2 separate regions of the Homo sapiens genome follow, and region 2 is linked to region 1. Evidence: promoter capture Hi-C in 16 types of primary human blood cells and fetal thymus (Javierre and others, 2016). All regions are on one chromosome and are shown on one strand. The core of a region is centred on a gene start or on the middle of the fragment in contact, and the rest is flanking DNA. Distances in the headings are between cores, read along the strand shown. Region 1 holds the start of PKD2L2 (polycystin 2 like 2, transient receptor potential cation channel). Region 2 overlaps ETF1 (eukaryotic translation termination factor 1).

Region 1 (3,568 bases), core at 1-2,500:
AGCTGCTGGGAGAGGTTGAGCTGGGGATCCCTTAAGATCAGGAGTTTGAGGCCAGACTGGGAAATATAGCGAGACTCCATCTCTAAAAAAAAAAAAATTATGTAAATTTGATTACCTATATATGGGTGTTTTTCCTCTAATAATTTCAATTTCAGATAATCTGTTACTTTAGAAAGCATAATTTTGTGAACAGCTGAGAGTCCCAGTACAGGAAAGCCCAAATCCTTTTGTTAAAACTATTCTAAAGCTTTTTTTCCTCTCGGGCTTCTAGTTCACTGGCTGTCAGCCTTTTGCGAGGCCTCTCCTGTTCCTCTCATCGATGGTAGTTTTTGACCCTCACTACTGTGTGGCCGTTTTGCTTTTTATCTACACATAAAACAGCATTTATCGACAGCAGTCTACATCTCTTTCAGGGAAATAACAAAAGTGGCTTTATCTTTTACTTTCAAAACTGGTTAGTGGTTTTCTTTGCAGGTTTCCCTGGGGCCTTTGGACTGGATTCCATTTTATTTTCCTTTTTATCAACACGAGAATCCGTCCTGGTCTTACATCCTGGAGGGCTTTTGGCTGCCTTAATTTACAGCCAAATTAGTTTGGCCTTTTCTATAGCTGGTTTACCAACCTTCTCATCTTTGCAAAGCTTCTGGGTCAGATGTGGGTCTGGGCCCCAGGACTCCTGTGTCGGCCTGACCTTTCACATAATCACTGCAGAGTTTTTCATCTATTTTTACATCACGGGGGCAGGGGAGTGGAAGCTACTTCCAGCAACAGCTCTCGGTTAATAACCAGTTTCTGCAAGTAGCAGCAGCAGCAGCAGCGTAGGGTCACGGTTAGGAATTTGGGCTTGGGCATCCAAGACTTGGCCCCAACTTCCAGTGAATTACTTCATTTCTCAGCTTCTCGGTTTCTTCAGGCCTAAAATGAGGACAAAAATACCTACCTTTCACGGAGGTGGATGTGGAGACTAACAAGGCGATAAATGTTAAAGGTATTCGAGAGAGAGAAGCCCGTGATAATGAATGACTACGATTTTTAAGCCCACAGCCAGGTTATTCCCAGAAGTTGGCCCTCCGCACCAGACCCCAGCAGCCCGCAGCCCGCCTCGGGCGAAAGGCCTCCCGGGCTCCTGCGGCGCAGCCGCGCTGACGACTTGTCGAGTAGCTCGCCGCCCTGGAGGAGCTGGGGGCTCGCGCAGGCGTCAGAGCCGGGCAGCGCGCGCCGCAAGACTAGCGCGCAAGCGCCGCGGCCTCAGGCGAACGAACGGGCGGTGTAGTGCAGGTCCGCCATGGCTGAGGCGTCACGGTGGCACCGAGGCGGTGAGGGGTCCTCTTAAGGAGTGGGAGGGACAGGGGCGATTTGGCAGTTCCAGACACCCTGAAAGGAACTCTGCGGCCCCAAATTCGTTTGAGAGATGTGACTGCCGACACCTTTAGCCCTCACAGCCTCCCCTGGGGAAGCGGAGAGGGACAGATGGTCCCATTGCACAGACGGGAAAACTGAAGCCCTGAGCGAGGTGGCGCTCGCCTCTTGCCGGAGGCTCGAGCTGGGCGTTGTCACCTGTCGAGTGACCGTCGCTAGGCCGGTCTCTAAAGTCCTTGGTTGATCTGGGGAGTCGTGACCTTGACAGAATTCAAGCCGAGGTGTTTTTCCCCTGTCCAGCAGAAACCAGCCTTCCCAAGAAGCTGTATTGAGGGTGGAGAAAACGGTTAGGACAGATGAGAGGTTTTACTTGTTTCGTATTTTGCTTTTTCATCTTAAGACTGGCGAGAAGACATCATGATATAAAATCTGTTAGTGGCCGGGCGCAGTGGCTCAAGCCTGTAATCCCAACACTTTGGGAGGCCGAGGCGGGCGGATCACAAGGTCAAGAGATCGAGACCATCCTGGCCAACATGGTGAAACCCCATCTCTACTAAAAATACGAAAATTAGCTGGGTGTGGTGGCGCGCGCCTGTAGTCCCAGCTACTCGGGAGGCTGAGGCAGGAGAATCGCTTGAACCGGGGAGGCGGAGGCTGCAGTGAGACGAGATCGCGTCACTGAACTCCAGCCTGGCGACAGAGCTAGACTCCGTCTCAAAAAAAAAATCTGTTATTAATAGTATATAGTAAAAAAATTATCCCTGCCTCGTAAAACTAAGAATTGAAAAATAGCCAGAAGCTATTGGAGCTTTCCTCCCCGCAGTGTAAGGACTAAAAGTGGCTGTGGTTTTTCCATTGTTGTCACTTATAAATTACATAATAATGTAAAGAAAAATTTTGTCTTATATCTCACAGGGGCTTCGAAACATAAGTTGCATTACAGAAAGGAAGTAGAAATTACAACCACACTTCAGGAATTGTTACTCTACTTTATTTTTTTAATAAACCTATGTATATGTAAGTACACAGATATAAAGATGCTGTTTGTTTGAACTAAGAAGTTAAAATGTGGAGATGAAAAATAAAACATACAAACTTCAAAACCACAGGCTGTCAGGCTACTAAAACTCAAAATACAGTGACACGTTTAAACATAATCTTAAATTCATTTAGATTCATTTCATTTAGAAATTGACTATTTTCAGTTCTTAAGGGGCAAAATTTTACATCGCAAATGTAAGAAGCTTCCATAGTCAATACTGACTGAATTAGAATTATTCCTTTCATTTGGCAGTTCTGTCTTGAGCATAATTCATCCCTTGGGTTGGCAACTGCAATTTGATTTTGTTTAGAGTCATATAGACACATCAGCTGAGTTTCATAAATCAAAGTACAAATGAGGCCAAAGTTCATCTTGGTGTCTGCCATTAGCTTGGTTCTTTTCACTGACCTATTGCAGTTAAAAAAATAGTTTGTGCTGAGTCAATGCAAATAATTAAGGAGGACTGGGAAAACATCTCAACCTGCATTCCTCCTACCTGTGGGTCAATAGCATTGGCTTAATATGCAAAGAGGAGTATTAAAGAGCATTTGTCGATGGCACCCAACATAACAGTAGATGAAAGCTCACTGGCAGTATTGTCTCATGTTGGTATGTGCTACACACTGGCAATTGTATAGCAATTAAGTAATTAATTGGTGTTGTAGGGGTGAGTTTGAGTCTGCTCTTGATTGAAAAGACAACTATAAAATTAGCCAGGTGTGGTGGCACACCCCTGTAGTCCTAGCTACTGAGAAGGCTGAGGTGGAGGATTGCTTGAGCACAGGAGGTCGAGGCTGCAGTGAACTGTGATTGCAACGACTGCACTTCAGCCTGGGTGACAGGCTGAGACCCTGTCCCAAGGAAAAAAAAAAAAAAGATAACTGTAGGCAACTTTATAAATTAAGATATCTTAGACTGCTTTATAAAAGCTTGGTTATGAAAACTACATGCTTACTACAGAACATTTGGAAAATGTAAAAATGTAAGTAAAAAGATCATTTATAATCCCATTATTCAGAGATTTTTAAAGAACACTTTTTTTAATATAATACAGCAACCTGAATCTCCATTTATAATGTGATTTTTTTTCTTTTTTTTTTCTTTTTTGAGACAGTCTCGCTCTGTCACCCAGGCTGGAGTACAGTGGCTCACTGCAACCTCCACCTC
Region 2 (3,703 bases), core at 335-2,834, 620 kb after region 1:
ATATATATTTTTTTTTTTTTTTAAAGGCAATTTCTTTGGTGGACCTTCTACCATAAGGCTACTTCCTCCAGATCTTGAAAGTGTATTATGGCTGAGCCCATGTTATAAAATGTGCTTTAAATGCTTTAGGCTGAATCAGCTGTCATACTGCTGAGAGCTTTGCTGCTATGTATCTCCAAGAATAAATCAGAAAAAGAAAATAAGGAACAGGTTTTAGTTTCTTTGAAATCAAACTCCATTCTACAGCCAATTCTGACAACCCAACTAAACAAGGAACCTCCACAGGATCCATAAGAAGCCCACCTAAAAATGGTTGATTTCAGAAGAGAAGGGGTTCAGAAAAGCACAGGGGAATGTTTCCTGATAAACATCTGTAAACCTGCTGTTTAACTCAGAGGCAAGTTTTTAACCCAAGGAATTTTAAAAAGATGTGTCTGTTCCAGTGCTCACACAGAGGACTCACCTACTCCTACCTAGGGTCTTACATAATAAAGCATCTACTTCTTACTTACCTGATCAAACATATCAGATTGACTTAGTTCAGTTTTAAAGTCAGCGGATCCAGCTAAAACTAGACCAGCCACATTCACTTTGTCCCCAGAAATAAACAGCTGCACAGCAGTCTCTGCTACTTTCCGAACATAGTTATGTCGCTTTTCCATTCTTAAACGGGCAAAACGCAAGGCTGACTGACCTCCTCTACCTTTGACACAAAAGTAGCAAGAGAAAAAGGCAATTATTAAGAACTACAAGATGTCTTCAAATTAAAAATAAAATAATCATGTCATCATCTAAGAAAAGGACAAAGAAAAATCACCATTCCCTTAACTAAACGTTCAGCATAAACTGCTACTTGTTTTCAGAGAGCGACTACTAAGTCTATGTCAAGAGAGGAGCTGTAAGTACCAATGAGGCACCAGTCATTACAGGAGGCTTCTCTCCCCATCATCTGGATTCACTCCCCTCACATCATACTGTTTTCTCTCTCTCTCTTTTTTGAGACAGAGTCTCACTCTGTCGCCCAGACTGGAGTGCAGTGGCGCAATCTTGGCTCAATGCAACCTCCGTCTCCCGGGTTCAAGCAATTCTCCTGCCTCAGCCTCACAAGTAGCTGGGATTACAGGCGCCCGTCACATTTTTGTATTTTTAGTAGAGACAGGGCCGGGCTGGTCTCGAACTTCTGACTTCGTGATCCACCCGGCTCGGCCTCCCAAAGTGCTGGGATTACAGGCGTGAGCCACCGCACCCGGCCCACCATACTGTTTTCTTATTGCTAGACACAAAGTAAGTGGGTTCATGTTCTCCTCCTGTATTACCGTGTTTCTTTGGGAGATCCACAGTGAATTTGTGCAGGACTTCTCTTGTGTTTCCTTGGAGTGTGCCAAAAAGTGCACCACTACCATCTATTACAATGAATCCAAACTTGCTATCATCTGAAAGTAGTGCTGTAAGAGCCTGAAAAGCAAACACAAGTACCACACGGTGAATCCCAAAGCTTTGCTAAGGTCAAAAAAACTCTGAAAGGATATATACAAGCCCTTTCACTCCACTCACCATGCTATTAGCACTGTGGGAAAACCTTCTACGGAATAATTTATAGACTTCAGTTATAAACATGTAACTCTTATGGACAAATTTGAACCCAATAAGGAAATAACGAATGATATCTATGTGAAGCTTTTCAACACATTTGACATGGGCATGTAAATATAAAACCAGAAAGATATCTGTATGCCCATGTTTATAGCAATATTACATACAGCAGTTAATACTACTCAATCTCAAAAAGGAAGAAAATTTTGAAACACACTACAACAGGGATGAAACTTGAATACATGCTAAGTGAAATAACCCTGTCAAAAAAGGACAAATACTGTATGACTCCACTTATATGAGGTTCCTGGAGTAATCAAAATCAGAGACAAAAAGTCAAATGGTGGTTGCCAGGGGCTGGAAAAAAGGGGGAACAAGGAATTATTGCTCAATGGATACAGTTTCAGTTTTATAATATAGAGTTCTAAGCTGGGTATGATGGCTCACACATGTAATCCCAGCACTATGGGAGGCTGTGGCAGGCAGATGGCTTGAGCTCAGGAGTTTGAGACTGGCCTGGGCAACATAGCGAAACACTGTCTCTACAAAAAAATACAAAAATTAGGTGGCTGTGGTGACACGTGCCTGTAGTCCCTACCAGCTACTTGGAAAGGCTTTAGTCTGGGAGGTGTAGGTTGCAGTGAGCCAAGATTGTGCCAGTGTACTCCAGCCTGGGTGATCCAGAGACCTTGTCTCAAAAAACAAAAAAACTTTAACTTGTTCCTTTTTTTTTTTTTTTTGAGACAGGGTCTCACTTTGCTGGCCAGGCTGGAGTGCAGTAGCCATCATAGCTCACTGCAGCCTCGAAGTCTTGGACTCAAATGATCCTTCTGCCTTAGCCTCCCAAAGTGCCGGGGTTACAGGCATGAGCCAGCATGTCTTTAAAGGTATTGCAGCTAATGATTCTGAGTTTTATGAGGAAAACCTTCCTTCTATGTTAACTTTATATCCCTTTATGCCTTCCCAAAGAGAAAATATTGAAACAGTCCTGGGACATACATAGATAAGAGTTCTCACAGTGGAATCGGAATACTACACACTTAGTTGATCTCTAATTGCCAGGGGACAATCTCTTTGGAAGTAAGAAATTGTTACCCATTCCATTTTATTTTTATAAACTGATCCTCCTCTTTGGCCTCCCAAAGTGCTGGGATTACATAGGTGTGAGCCACAACACCTGGCCTTACCATTCCATTTTAAGAAAATAGCCCCTTCAATAATTGACTAGAAAGCAGATGGATCAACTAAGAATCCATCTTTAACAAACCATGCTAGATAGTTGGCATTAAGACATGAATATTGTGGCCGGGCGTGGTGGCTCATGCCTGCAATGGCACTTTGAGAGGCCAAGGTGGGTGGATCACTCGAGGTCAGGAGTTTCAGACCAGCCTAGCCAACATGGTGAAATCTCATCTACTAAAAATACAAAAATTAGTTGGGCGTGGTGGTGCACACTTGTAATCCCAGCTACTCAGGAGGCTGAGGCAGGACAATCACTTGAATTCGGGAGGTGGAAGTTGCAAGGAGCCGAGATCGTGCCATTGCACTCCAGCCTGGGCAACAGAGCAAAACTCAATCTCAGAAAAAAGAAAAAGAAAAAGAAAAAAGACATGAATATGAATATTGCACGTTAATAATATAGCCTTATCAAAATGACCCGTTAGGTAGATTGAAGTTTTTAATAAATCTGCTTATCAGGGAATAGGCATATCCCTTATTAGAATATATAATTACCCTGATAAACAGGATATAACCCTCTCAGTTAAAGCTAAAATGTACAAAGTTAGCAAGATTAAACAGTATCTTAGAAAAGGAGTTAAGGTTTGGAAAAAAGCCAACAAGGCTAACTCAGTAAGTGAGCAAAAGCCAGACAACATGGGTACCTGGCACTGTTTAAATCAACAAGATTCAAAATCGGCTTTCATCCAACCAGATACAGGTAAGTGGTTTCAGTGGCTGAGAGGCTCCCTGAAAAACCCTCTGCTGTAAGTAGAGTGTGGTAGTGAAGAGAAAAACAGTCTGGATTGTCTATGCAGTCGACCAAGATCCAACTATAAATGGACTTCCCATCAAGTTAGCAAAAATCATCCACTGTAAACTGTCGACAAAT

The links. Contacts are between HindIII fragments. The CHiCAGO score rates a contact against its expected background, and 5 or more counts as called.
Region 2: a contact is called between a fragment that was not itself captured here and the fragment with the promoter of PKD2L2 in region 1, in 1 of 17 cell types (total B cells). The highest score is 5.1, in total B cells.

Annotation. Positions count from the first base shown.
Region 1 is chr5:137,888,207-137,891,774 of GRCh38, forward strand. PKD2L2 (polycystin 2 like 2, transient receptor potential cation channel) reads left to right here and starts at 1,251. Exons shown (of 15, transcript NM_001300921.2): 1 at 1,251-1,316; 2 at 2,275-2,376. The coding sequence starts at 1,286. It overlaps PKD2L2-DT (PKD2L2 divergent transcript), which reads right to left and starts at 1,113. Exons shown (of 4, transcript XR_948815.3): 1 at 941-1,113; 2 at 1-82. The HindIII fragment of the contact is 1,963 bases long and covers 639-2,601 here.
Region 2 is chr5:138,512,252-138,515,954 of GRCh38, forward strand. It overlaps ETF1 (eukaryotic translation termination factor 1), which reads right to left. Exons shown (of 11, transcript NM_004730.4): 5 at 1,317-1,455; 6 at 513-703. Among named protein-coding and RNA genes, the nearest start is that of ETF1, 29 kb to the right of the region's middle. The HindIII fragment of the contact is 182 bases long and covers 1,494-1,675 here.